Linked DNA regions of Homo sapiens: regions 2 and 3 are each linked to region 1. Evidence: promoter capture Hi-C in 16 types of primary human blood cells and fetal thymus (Javierre and others, 2016). All regions are on one chromosome and are shown on one strand. The core of a region is centred on a gene start or on the middle of the fragment in contact, and the rest is flanking DNA. Distances in the headings are between cores, read along the strand shown.

What was found. The method cuts DNA at HindIII sites, captures the fragments that hold promoters and counts their contacts. A CHiCAGO score of 5 or more calls a contact.
Region 2: a contact is called between a fragment that was not itself captured here and the fragment with the promoter of PFN2 in region 1, in 10 of 17 cell types (megakaryocytes, endothelial precursors, erythroblasts and 7 more). The highest score is 13.6, in megakaryocytes.
Region 3: a fragment that was not itself captured here is called in contact with the fragment with the promoter of PFN2 in region 1 in 1 of 17 cell types (megakaryocytes); the score reaches 6.2 in megakaryocytes.

What each region holds. Positions count from the first base shown.
Region 1 is chr3:149,968,778-149,973,141 of GRCh38, reverse strand. PFN2 (profilin 2) reads left to right here and starts at 2,247. Exons shown (of 3, transcript NM_053024.4): 1 at 2,247-2,417. The coding sequence starts at 2,286. It overlaps LOC646903 (a long non-coding RNA gene), which reads right to left and starts at 1,863. Exons shown (of 1, transcript NR_036538.1): 1 at 1-1,863. RefSeq lists enhancers at 984-1,514, 1,515-2,046 and silencers at 1,892-1,951, 2,182-2,261, 2,472-2,711, 2,722-2,771, 2,792-3,051. The HindIII fragment of the contact is 10,546 bases long and covers 1-4,364 here.
Region 2 is chr3:150,199,923-150,204,286 of GRCh38, reverse strand. No RefSeq gene overlaps it. Among named protein-coding and RNA genes, the nearest start is that of LINC01213, 36 kb to the left of the region's middle. RefSeq lists an enhancer at 1,118-1,619. The HindIII fragment of the contact is 3,367 bases long and covers 67-3,433 here.
Region 3 is chr3:150,160,767-150,165,130 of GRCh38, reverse strand. No RefSeq gene overlaps it. Among named protein-coding and RNA genes, the nearest start is that of LINC01213, 76 kb to the left of the region's middle. The HindIII fragment of the contact is 919 bases long and covers 2,323-3,241 here.

The sequences.
Region 1 (4,364 bases), core at 998-3,497:
TATACAGAATTTTTTTCATAGTTGTTTAAATTTTACTGTTTGCAATTCTAGAAAAATAACATCATGTTGGAAAAGTAAGCAGTAATTTAAAATGAATTATATTTTGAAAAATATAGAAGAATGACAAGAATTCTAAATTTTTGTGAATATTTTACCCAAGAAATGTGTTTTAGAATCTTTTGAGATTTGAATTAGAAAATATTGTTGGTCAAATTCTTTCACTGTTTAAAGCCAACAATAAAAGAATAGGAAAAGAATGTAGTTATTTCCAACTCTGTGCTATAACAATAAGATAGTAACGTCTAGAAATTATATCTTAAAACCTTCAGAGTAAATTAATAAAAATTCAACATACTTCAAGTTATCACTGTATTTTTTCTATAATTACCTTTTCGTTTACTGTTTCAATTTATTGAATTATACATACAATGAAGAGCACAATAAATGTACATACAGCTTGATGAATTCTCACATAGTGAGCCTGTGTTACAAGTAATCTATTATTAACTTTTAAGATGATACAGTGCTATGATCGAAGGACTAAAATGATCAACATCACCATAAAAGGCAGAGTCATAAACAAGAACAATTAAGTGTAATTAAATCAGGTGGGAGGCACACTTACAAAAATGAAACAATTTTTGGTTCACATTTTACACCACACAGGTATTCTGTATCTTTAGAACATGAGAAAATACATATTCTCAGTCTGATAGGTCTCTGACTTGGGGGTTTCTTTTACTGTACTTTTTTTCTCTCTAGTAGCTGAACATTTTAAAGCAATCAGCAGAAAAAATATAAAACTTCAGAACCAATTAGACTTTTAAAAGCAACGTTCTTGCCCTTTCCAGAGATACATTCCTTAATCCTCCTACAAATCATGACCTCACACGATAACTTTAAGGGTGAACATCAACTTATCTACATTTTGGTGCTTTCTTTCCCTTAAGTGGCAGATGGTTTCTATTAACCTAAAATTGAAGTCATTGTTGGGGGACCCCTAATTCCATGTCTAGTCCTAGTGCCCAGAGGCTACCAAAGACGATACGAATAGCTTCTCAGGCACTCTACCCACCGTTTACCTTGTTAATACAAATCTTTCCCAGACCTGGGTCCCGAAATTATTTTACCCTGCAGAGCAGAAATGTTACGGTGTTCATTCAGTGAACTCTTCCCTAGTTTTTAATCTTTGTATTTTCTGCGTATACTTCAAGCCACCAGTAACTTTCCCAGTTACCAAGAAACAGTGTAACACAGGTCGCTATTTGTTTTGTTCGGAATTTACGAGCAATTTAACCACACGTGATTAGCAACATTAAGGGGGCTCCTCCAGGCAAAGAATCCACAGAATGAGAGGCCCTTGGTACCCAAATGAAGCAACAATGAAAGATCGGCGAAGCTCAGCAAGGTTCCTGAGCGCCACGGACGCCTGCTCTGATTTCAGGTTGCCGGCGCGCGCCCGCGGGTCTGCCTTTATGGACGAGGCGCAAGAGGGATCCAGGAAAGACGGTGCCCTTAGAGACTCGGAGATTAGCGTGGGCAACCCTGCCACCAGCTGCCCCTGCCACCAGCCGCCCCCACAACAAAAAGGAGGAAACGCTCCGCATCCCGTCACCAGGACAACTCTGTAACCCGACACCGAGGCTCAAGATTCCGCATCCCGGGCAGCGAACACAGGAGAAAAGCACATCGCGGCCCGGCCGCGGGGCTCCAAGGCGTCCGTGCCGCCGCTGTTCCTGGGGTGCCGAGAGCGACGCGGGGTCCACCCTCTCCGCCGGCCCGAGGTCCGAAGCTCGGCCCGCCACCGCTCCCGGCCGGCGCCTCCCGCACGTGGCGGCCGTGATTGTCCCGGGGCGGTATCCCTCCGCGCCCCCGCCTCAGTCTCCCCCCGCCCTTCCCGGGACCCTCCGTGCCCGGGCGCCGCGGAAGGATCGCACGCACGCGCGCGCGCACGCCCAGCCGTGTCCGCGGAAAACGGAGGGCGCTGCGGTAAGGAGCAGCCGCCACAGGCACAGCCGCTTCGCAGCCTCCCGCCGCTGGTTTGTCAGCCCCGCGGCTGCGGGCGGCCGGGCGGCCGAGCGCGCTCTGAGGTTCGTCCCTCATCGCTGAACCCGCGTCCTCCCGCCGCAGCTCCTCGGGGAGGGGGGCGGTCGGTGCCTGCGCAGAGCCGCCTCCTCCCCGCCCCCGCCCCGCCTCCCCCCGCGCCGCCGCCGCCCGCTACCGCCGCCGCCGCCGCTGCGCCTGCTGCTCCTCGCCGTCCGCGCTGCAGTGCGAAGGGCTCGAAGATGGCCGGTTGGCAGAGCTACGTGGATAACCTGATGTGCGATGGCTGCTGCCAGGAGGCCGCCATTGTCGGCTACTGCGACGCCAAATACGTCTGGGCAGCCACGGCCGGGGGCGTCTTTCAGAGCATTACGGTGAGGACCAGTGGCGGCCGGTACCCTGGTCCCTGCACCGGAGCGGGGTGGCCGGCCGCGGGGGCACCGCAGCGCGGGGCTGGAACACTGAGGGCCGAGCCCGCAGGTGTGCTAGGCAGCGGGCGCCGAGGATGCGGCTGCCGGGCGGGCGGGGAGGCCGAGGCCCGGGGACGCCCCCTCACCCGGGGCTGCGCTGACAGGCTGGGGGCGGCGGCCGGACTCCTTGCTGGCCCTGGCCGGGCGCCCCCGGCGTTCCCAGCGTCGGTCCAGGTGCCCGGGTTGGGGGAGGGGGCACGCACCGGCCAGGGCAAGGGGAGGGGTTCCTTTTTTCCTCCTAGTGCGGTTCCCCTAGGTTCTCTTGAAGCCCTGAGGTTTGCTATGCACGTTCTGGGGTGGAAGCGGGGGTCGGGGATCCGGGCTGGGGCGCGCGGGCCCCGGGTGGAGGTCCCTAGGCTCTCTGGCCGGCTCTTGCTCCGCGGACAGCGCGCCTCCCGCGCCTCCGGCTGTGGGAGGCGGCGGCCCCGGCCCGGCCCCCGGGATTCTCGAAGCGACTTTGCGTAGGTTTACCGATGTCCAGGCCTCTGGGGCTTGCGAGAGATGTACGCCGACCGCGTAGGTGGATTCGTGAATCTCGACTTCAGCTCTAGCTCTATAGGTTGTTTTTTTTTTTTTTTTAAATTCTCCAAGATGGCGAACTGCCATTGATTTCTCTTCTCATATGGAGATTCATCGATATACGGTTATCCCCAGTTATGCAACATAGCTCAAAAAAGGGGTGCTTTTCGGGGGCTTTCAATTATCTGCGAAGACCAGGAGCACACTTCACTTCTCTAAGTCCCTCCCTCTTTAGTGGTGGCAGTAAAGGAACTAATGCAGTTTTATGCTTCACATTGCCTGATTTTCTTGAGACTTGATGGTTTTGAGTTGGTTGCAATATGTTTGGAGAATATTTGCCACAAAACCTCCAGCTTATTGTTTTGCCTGTTTCTGCCCAAGGCTGTTTCTAAAATTATGATAATTGTACTAAATACGAGACCATTCTCTTTATTTCTTAGCACCACGCTCCCTTTCCATTAAGCACCAAAATTCAGGTCCCCTATTAAGGGTGCTAATTATTCTTTTACCACTTAACATGGTTTAAAGTCTAACTTTAGAACTCAGTCCTTGATAGTAGTACTTTAAGGTCTCGTATACCCGCAGTGGACTACAATTCTTGTAGGGAATTGGCATCTGGTCATCAACTTTTTTCCTGCAGTCCTCTTGTCTTTGTGTGTGAGTTCCCGCTGTCTGACTAGGAAGATTGCGGGAGTGTGCTTGGAAATGGCTGGGGCCTGCTATGACTCTGCAGTTCTGATGGGGGCGACGCCTTCCTTCTTATTCATGGAATGTTAGAATGCACGTTTTCTCCTTTCCGGTTCTGGTGGCTACCTCAGTTTCTTTCCCAATCTCCCTCCATTTTTTCTGTTTTACTATTGCCTACCGCAGTGCTGTAGACAGAATCCACTTTGCGTTTGCCCAGAAAGAAAACTGATTACTGAGATGGGAGGGGAAGGGAAGTTGGAAAGAAACGGGAGTCGTGGCTAGAAAAATAGGAGGGAAATATGAATTTGGAAAAGCACTGATGTCCAGGGGTTGAAGTCCATCTCATCACGTATATTTCTAGTTACTCTAAGCAGAGAAGTGAACACATCAAAGAACAGGCTTTATTTTGGGAGACTTTGAAGCAACTTTAAATTTGATGAAACATGATTTACTGTAATGGGACTGAATATGATAGACCAGCTTTGTTCAGAGTTGATAGCTGAATTTTTACCATTACGTGAACACTTTCAGGCACCAGCTGACTTAATACAGTTTATAAATAACTCTTTAAGTTTGCACTTTGTCTAGTGTCAACTGTCAACTCTTTACAGTTTCTTTGTATAGACTGGTCTTGGTTAAGAGACG
Region 2 (4,364 bases), core at 501-3,000, 230 kb before region 1:
GAAGTCTGTTTTTCTGCACATAACATAACACATGGAAGGTGACAGTCTTGGGTTCACAAGAAAGCTTTACCTTGTTGCCAGGGGCCTAGGTCCTTTTGTTCCTCTGCTCCATCATCCTTAGCACTGGCTTCACTCCTTATGGTTGCCATATGATCACAAGTGGCTGCTGGAACTCCAGCAATCATGCCTGCTTTCCACACAATGAGAAGGAAAGAGAAAGGGCAAAATGGCATGCCTTCTAACTTAGTCTACCCTCTTTAAGAAACTTCTTGAAAATTCCAGTGACCTCCAATTTTGTGGTCTTTTTACCTGCTCTGAATAAAACTGGGTTTCAACTAGTCAGGAAGAAGGGGAGAATAAAGATTGGAGAAACAGCAGATAGCAGTTGCCAAATCATTCAAACCAGTTTATGTCAAACAGGAAGGATACATGGGAGCCCCAGGGAAACAGGACAAGAAGTACAGTCATGCCTCATGGGAAGCAAGAACTAGAAACTAGAGGCTATTGGAAACCCAGGTGGCCACTCTGGGAAGTCTCCTTCTCAGGCTATGTTGTTTCTCTTCTGTTCTTCACTCAGCACACTCACCTCCTACTTTTCTTTTTCTCCATCTGACCCTTTCCTTCTCTTTGCACAAGGTAAAAAATGGTCACTTTGCATCCCAAATTCACATATTCTCTGCTCAAGGAAACTGGTATATATAGTAGGGCTTCTCTGAATTCAGACCCCTCAACCTTCCAATAAGGAGAATCTGATTACCTCACTTTGGTGAGGACTTAATGCTGGTCTGACTCTCTGTGGTCAAAGAGCCACTATGTACAAATCTGTCTGCTAGTTTCGTGTGGGCGTGTGCTGGGGTAAGAGGAGTAATTCTCTGAAGAGCACTCCTCAGCCAGAATGGAGGCTCTCTTCGCTTAATCGTCATAATAGAGTAAAATGAACTTCTCTTTACAAAAACATAGATAACCAGAAAGTTAAAATTTAAAAAAAAGTTCTCCTTGACAATTAGGAAATCGTTGAGGCCCTGCCAGACCGTCCGCATGCCATCCAGACCGTCCGCATGCCATCCAAACCTCCGCATCAATGAAAGGGTAGGTTAGCTCCCATATCATCCTTACGTGCTTTCTGTATCACTTTGAATCTTAAAAACAAAAACAAATAAAACAAAAAAACCTTGTTATTTATTTCTGAGCTGGGTGGGGATGCCTGGCTAACTAGAATATCCCATTCTCCTTTCTCTGGACTGCCAAATAAACAGGGGTTTACTGTCTTCCCTGGAGTCTGGAATGGTTTTTGGTCAAATAGACTCCACATTTCCATGAGTTTTAAGATGCTGAATATCAGCCAGCTTCACCCCACCAAGTGTAATTGTTGACAGCTGTGTCTTGAAAAGGGTTTCTTTTGTGCTCATCCTGCTGAGTGAGCCGAATTGCTTCATTAACATTTAGGCCATGTTACACATTCAAGTGCTTGTGAGGTATTTGGATTTCAGATGAGTTTTTTTTTTTTTTTTTAATTCTTGTTCCAAACATGACAAGTCTCCATTTTTGTAATGAGTTTTTGTATATATGGGTGCTATTGAAATTTTTGCATCTTTGTTCATTTGTCATGCAAAGACATACAGCAATGATTGTTACGCTTTGACCTAGTTATTAAGGCCTTTTATATTTGTGAAGAGCAAATTTCAAATTATGCCTTAGAGTAACTATGACTGTTGGTGCTTCCCCGCCCAAGAAGACAATGTCAGCTTCAAGGGGTACTTGGTGGGGGAAGAGGAGGTGCTCCCCTCCAAAAGAACTTCTATAGGCTTCCCTAAGCCATCCCCAGTGAACATACAAGTAAGCAAAAAACAGTGCATTTTCCATGAAAATTCGACTTCAAGATAAGCCCCCTTTCCTACCCTTCCAGCGAGATTTATGCTCTGAACCATTTCTCTGTAGGAACTCAGCAAGCAGGAGCTAAGCAGCAAGCAGCCACTGCTCAGTTTGAGGTCCCAGGACAGGAAGAATTCCTGCAGCAGACACTAATTGCTTAGGTAATAGCCATTCTTCCTTTCTAACAGAATCCCAGTTACCATGTGGGTGACGATGTGCTGTGCTAAAAGCACCTGTCTTCTCAGACTCCTTTGCAGCTAGAGGTGGCCCTTGTTACCCAAATCTTGCCAATGAAATGTAAGGGAAAGTAATTGACTGAAACCTCTAGAAAAACTTTTCAAAAGAAGTACTGTCTTGCCCTTGCCTCTTTTTACTGTCTTCAACCCTGCTGCCTGGCTACAGGCAGAGTAGTCATCCCCTGAGGATGCAGGCAGGAAGACAGAAGGAGATTGAGTCTCTGGGGGCAACGTGGGGAAGCTGTACCAATTCTAGGCTGCCCAGCTCTGGAGGTCTGTTATCTGGTTAAGCCACTAAACGGGGTTTTCTGTTATTTACAGTCAAACACATTATTAATTGAGACCTTCCATAAGGGCATAGACTTTTGTTTGTTTGTTTTTGTTTTGTTGTTGTTGGGGCCTATTCTGGTTATCTGTTAACTACATAACAAATTACTCTAAAACTTACAGCTTAAGGTAGCAACCATTTCACCATATCTCTTGGCTTGGTGGGTCAGGAATTCAGGCAATGTCAGTGGGCAATTCTTCTGCTCCCTCTGTCATTGACTGAGATCACTGGGTGGTGTTCAGCTGGTGGATGGGCTGGTCTGGAAGGTCCGAGATAGCTTTACTCACATGTCTGGTGCCTTGACAGGGAAGCCTACAAAACAGGGCTCAGTGGATTCTGTCAACTGGAGTGCTTACACGTGGCTTCTCTGGCACGATGGTCTTAGGCTGGTCAGACATTACCTGGTAGCTCAGGGTACCCAGAGAGAAAGAGTTCCAAAGGGGTAGAAGTTTCCAGTTTCTCACACCTGGGCCTGGAAATAGGTACTGCATTGCTTCTGCTGTATTGTATTGGCCAAAGCAGTTACGGGCCTATCTAGGTTCTGGGGCAAGGAAACTTAGATCTACTCCTGATGGGAGTATTGTCAAAGAATTTGTGGCCATCGTTAATCCACCACAGGGGCAATGGGTTACAAAGTTACTTTCACAAAGTTTGATCTACAGGCCTATAATAGACAGCTCTCCCTCTGAGAGTAGACCTTGTATTCAAGTCTCTATGATTCTTGCAGGTAGACAGATGGTCTACATAGTGCCAGGCAGTAGTCTAGGCACTGGGAATGGAATGACAAACGTTAACCAGGAAGGTCCTCTTGTGTTAAGTTTGAGGTTGTAGTGGAGGGAAAAATGGCCTCCCTTCACCTTTTCAGGTTCTTTGGCCAGGCTATGCATTAACATAAGACATATTAACAGGAGAAAAAAAAAAACATATTTAATTATGTGCATAAGCACAAGAGTCCCACACAATATGAGACTCAAAGAAGGGCCAGGTGATTGAAGCTTGCATACTATCCTGAGCTATGGAAAGGAATAAGGACTGGGGGCATCTGGGGGTGATGGAGACAAGTTATCGGGGGGTTGGTGAGTGGAAGAAATGTATGGTAAATAAAGATTGTCTTGTTACAAGACAAGAAGTTTCTCAGGTAAAAAAGTTGTCTTTAAAAGCAGCCTTCTTTCTGATGCAGATACTTTTACTAATGTAGGTTTCCTTTATTGATAAACATTTCTATTACAAAAGGGCAGCTTTTCAGAGCTACTCCCATGTCTGGTGTCTCTCAGGATAACTAGCTCAAAATAGATCTTAAAAGTATATTTTGGGGTGGCATATTCTGGTCTCCTCTGGTCATATTTTGGGGCAATATGTCCAGAGCCCTGATAAAATGGTTACCGGACACACAAGAGGAGATTACTATGAAAAGAAATATTTGAAAATATATGGTGACCTAAGGTGGTGGCTAGGATGGTATAAAGAACCTGGCCCACAGGAGCCTCCCATGAGGAGTCCTGGGTTTTCATCTTCAGCTTGGATCTGCATGACCATGAGAAAATCCAGTAATACCTTTGGGCTTCAGTTTCATTATCAGTAAAATGAAGGGACTGGATCTTATCATCTCTGAGGTCTCTTCCATTGTAAAGTTTTATAGGTCTGGGCAATCACCATTTATGATTATGAAAAGAGCTGGAGTTATGATTTCTTTTCTTAACTCTTAAAAATACCAGGCTTTTTCTGTAGTCAAATTCCACTGTGCTTTTCTTCCACAGACATAGTTCACTTACAGAGCAGACCTCAGGAAGAACTCTGGGTAAAGGCAATATTTTTGTGAAAGTCAAATCTTCCCAGCTAATTTGATTTCTCTGACTTTCCCTGAGAACTTGTTCTTTCTAAACTTTCCCTGCTGTTCTCTTTTTAAGATTATAATATAAAATGTTTCC
Region 3 (4,364 bases), core at 1,533-4,032, 190 kb before region 1:
TCTTCTTTCCCGATAGATTGTAAGTCTGTGTTTGTAAAGTCATGATTCTCTGTAAGAAGATGAATTGTATGGATGACTATTTTACTATTGGTTACTGCTGCATCTATCAACTTGGGGAGAAATGTATTAGAGACAAAATAAAATGGTTTTAATCTTAAAAGAAAAGAGAGAACAATGGTGGTGGTAACATCTGCCTTGCCAGCCTCCCAGGTAGAATCACAGGTGGTGAGTCAGACAACTGTGAGTTTACAAACATGCAACACAGCAGCAATCAATGAACCTTCATGATGTGCTGGACGCTGTTTAGGGACCCAAATAGACCATTTCACCACCACTGCATGCAGATCTGAAAAGTCCTATTTTCTACATGCTTCCTTTGGAAAACACAAAATGGGTTAGATTTTTTCCCAATCTCTTGTTATAAAAATTTTCAATCATATATAGAAGTTGAAAGAAACTTACAGTGAGCACAGATGTATCTACCACCTAGATTCTACAATTAACATCTTACAATATTTGTAACATAGTGAGACCCCGCCCATCTCAATTTTAAAAAAGGGAGAAAAGGGCCAGGTGCAGTGGCTCACGCCTGTAATCCCAGCACTTTGGGAGGCCAAGGCGGGTGGATCACCTGAGGTCAGGAGTTCGATACCAGCCTGACCAACATGGAGAAACCCCGTCTCTACTAAAAATATAAAATTAGCCAGGCATGGTGGCACATGCCTGTAATCCCAGCTACTCGGGAGGCTGAGGCAGGAGAATTGCTTAAACCTGGGAGGCGGAGGTTGCAGTGAGCAGAGATCATGCCATTGCACTCCGGCCTGGGCAACAAGAGTGAAACTCCGACTCAAAAAAAAAAAAAAATAAATAAATAAATAAAATAAAAATAAAAATAAAAAAATAAAAGCCCTAAGGAAAAACGAATACTACAAAAAAACTTTAAACAGCTCTCATTGCTGGTTTCAGTTGTGTGCTCTACACCTGAAGAAATGCCCAAGGAAAAAGATATGATTTTAAAACCAAATAAAGGTTTGTCTCCCTGAGGGGCCAATGGTTTCTGTATCAAAGGCAGAGAAGGCACTGGAATACTATAATCTGGAATAGAAGCTTTTTGGAAGATAATAACAAACACCTTGCAATAGTATTGAATTGCATGTTCCAAACGCAGTCATTCAAGTATCCTTTCACTGTACTTGCCTCAACATATTAATAGTTTTCTTTAAACTAATTTGTCTTTTACTTAGATACATATATTTTAAAAAGAGATCTTATATCATTCCCATGGGTAGAAAACCAGGAGTATTTGCCATAAACAGAAACTAACTTGAAAATTAGTGCCATGCAAACCAAACAATGTTGTTAACTTTTAGCTCCATCCTGGGGCTTGATAAAAGCTCTGAGCCTGGGCCTGTTCTCTGTTTAAACAAGAAAAATAGCAAGATAGGCAAGAATTAGAGAACTGTTAAAACTTTCAAGTGGAAACTCTTCTTGATTTAATTAGAAGGACTGAAAGATAATTTAAAAGAATACATTTCTTAGTATGTGATTCAGTATAATATAAAATCAACTCCTTGTACTATTTTGTGTACCATCATGGTATACAACCCAGACCGGGTTTCCATCTCAAGAAGCAAGAAAAAGAAATACAAATGAAACAAACCAAAAAACAAAAAGACTGGAAATAAAGAAAAAAGGAGAAATCAATGAAATAGAAATGGAGGTAGAAACAAAATATGAATAACACAAAAAATTGTTTTATTGGAAAGAGCAATAAAATTGATAAATTCTGACTATAAAATTAAGAAGGAAAAAAAATCACAAATTACCTATGTCAGGAACTTTAAAAGAAGTATAACTACAGATCCTAAATTTTAAAAACAAAATGCCAAAAAATTTTACAACATTGTTGAAATGAACAAATTCCTTGAGAAATGTAAATTATTTAAACTGACGCAAGAGGAAATAGGAAAAATAAGTAATCCTATATTGATTTTAAAAACCAAATCTGTAATTAAAAGCCTGCCCCACCCCAGAAAACAGAGCAAAACTGTACGTTCGGATGGCTTTGTTGATAAATTTTTCTGAATACTTAAGGGAAAATTAATATACTTTTCAAGAAGAATGAGGAAACAATTCCAAATTTGGGGGTTTTATGAGGCCAGCATAATTCTAATATCAAAAACTGCCAAGGACATTCTAAGAAAGGACTATTATAGGCCACTATGTTTTAAGAGCAAAGACATTACAATCCCAAACAAGATAACATTAATAAATTGAATCTATTGATAAAGAAACAAGATTATACATTGACCAAGTGAAGCTTTACGAAACTATAAAACTGATTATTATTCAATAATTGATCAAAGTAATTCACCAAATTAACAAAATAAAAGAGAAAAATCATAATATCACCTCAATATATGCAGAAAAAGCATTTGACAAAATTCAAGTTATGCATGATAAAATCTCTTAGTAAACTAGGATAAGATGGGAACTTCCTTAATCTGATCAAGAGTACCTATAAAATTCTTAAGGTTAACATTACATAAATGGTAAAATAGTGATCTCCTTACCCCCAAGGCCAGAAATAAGACAAGAATGCCCACTATCACCACTAGTATTAAGCATTATGTTGGAGGAAATAACCAGTTCATTAAGGCAAGAAAAAAATATATATAAAGGTTGGAAATGAAGAAGTGACACTGTTTTTAATCAGACAACATAGTGGAATATACATAGATTTATCCAGTAACCTTGCTAAATTGAATTAGATATTCAAGTGTTAAGATGTCAGTTCTTCCCAAATTGACCTACAGATTCAATGAAATTCCAATCAAATTCTAGTAGATTTTTTTGTGGAAATTCATAATATTTTCATGGAAATGCAAATGGCCTAGAATAATCAAGACAACCCTGAAGAAAAACACAAAGTTGAAGGATTTACACAACCAAATTTCAAGATTTGCTATAAAGCCACAGTGATTCATACAGTGTGGTACTGGCCTGAGGACAGGCAAATACATCAACAAAATAAACTAGAAAGCCTAGAAATATACCCACATACATACAGTTACTTGATATGCAATAACAACACAAAGGCAAAAGTAGAATCTTTTCAGTAATGGTTTTATAGCAATTGTATATCCATATGGAAAAAAGAACTTTGCCTTCTACATCAGACACAAATATTATTTTGAGATTGATAGTAAAAATTACATGTGAAGGATGAAAAAATAAAGCTTCTAGAAGAAACACAGAATAATATCTTCATGAACTTGGATTAAGCAGAGATTAAATAGGACACAAAAAGCACTAACTGTAAAACGTTAATTAATTGGACATCACTAAAATTAAGAACTTCTACTCATCAAAAGTCAGACACCATTAAAGGAGTGAAAATGCAAGCCATAGCCTGGGAGAAAATATTTGCAATGCATATATCCAACAGAAGACTTACATCCAGAATGTATAAAGAATTCCTATAAATCAATAAGAAAAAAGACACCTAAATAATAAATGAGCAAAGAAATTAGTTGGTGTGGTGGCACACAAGCACCTGTAGTTCTAGCTACTTGGGAGTCAGAGGAAGGAGGATCACTTGAGCCCAGGAGTTTTAGGCTGTAGTGAGCTATGACTGCTCTACTGCACTCCAGCCTGGGCAACAGAGTAAGATTCTGTCTCTAAAAATGAAGAAACAAGAAAAGTCAAAAGACATGAACAGACACATGGCAAAGGAGGATATTCAAATACCTAATTGTCTAATAAACATATGGAAAAGTACTCAGCATTATTACTCATAACGGAAATGGAAATTAAAACCACAATGAAATAACACTATATACTCATCAGAATGGCTAAATTTAAAGACCGATGATACGAATTATTGGTTAAGATGTCAAGAAACTGAAACTCTCATATTGATGGTGACAGTATAAATCCCTACAAGTCCTGGAAAGCTGTTTGGCATTATGTAGCAATGCTAAACACATAACTATCTTTTGACCCAGCAATCCCACTCTTAAGTGTATATCCAAGAGAAATGAAGCCTGTGTCTACTAGAAGACATGTACAAGAATGTTCATAGCAGCTTTTTTCATAATAACCAAAAATTGGGAACAATCCAAATGTCCACCAACAGAAGAATAGGTAAATAAACCCTAGCCTATTTATACAATGGAATACTACACAGTAATGAAAAATATACAGAATGACATAAGTGAATCTCACAAATATTAAGCTTAGCAAAAGAACCCAGACACAATAAAGTACATACTCCATGATGTCATTTATATGAAAGTCAAGAAGAGGAAAATGGTGTACTTCATTTCATAGCAATTAATCTCAAATGTACATAAAAGTTACAT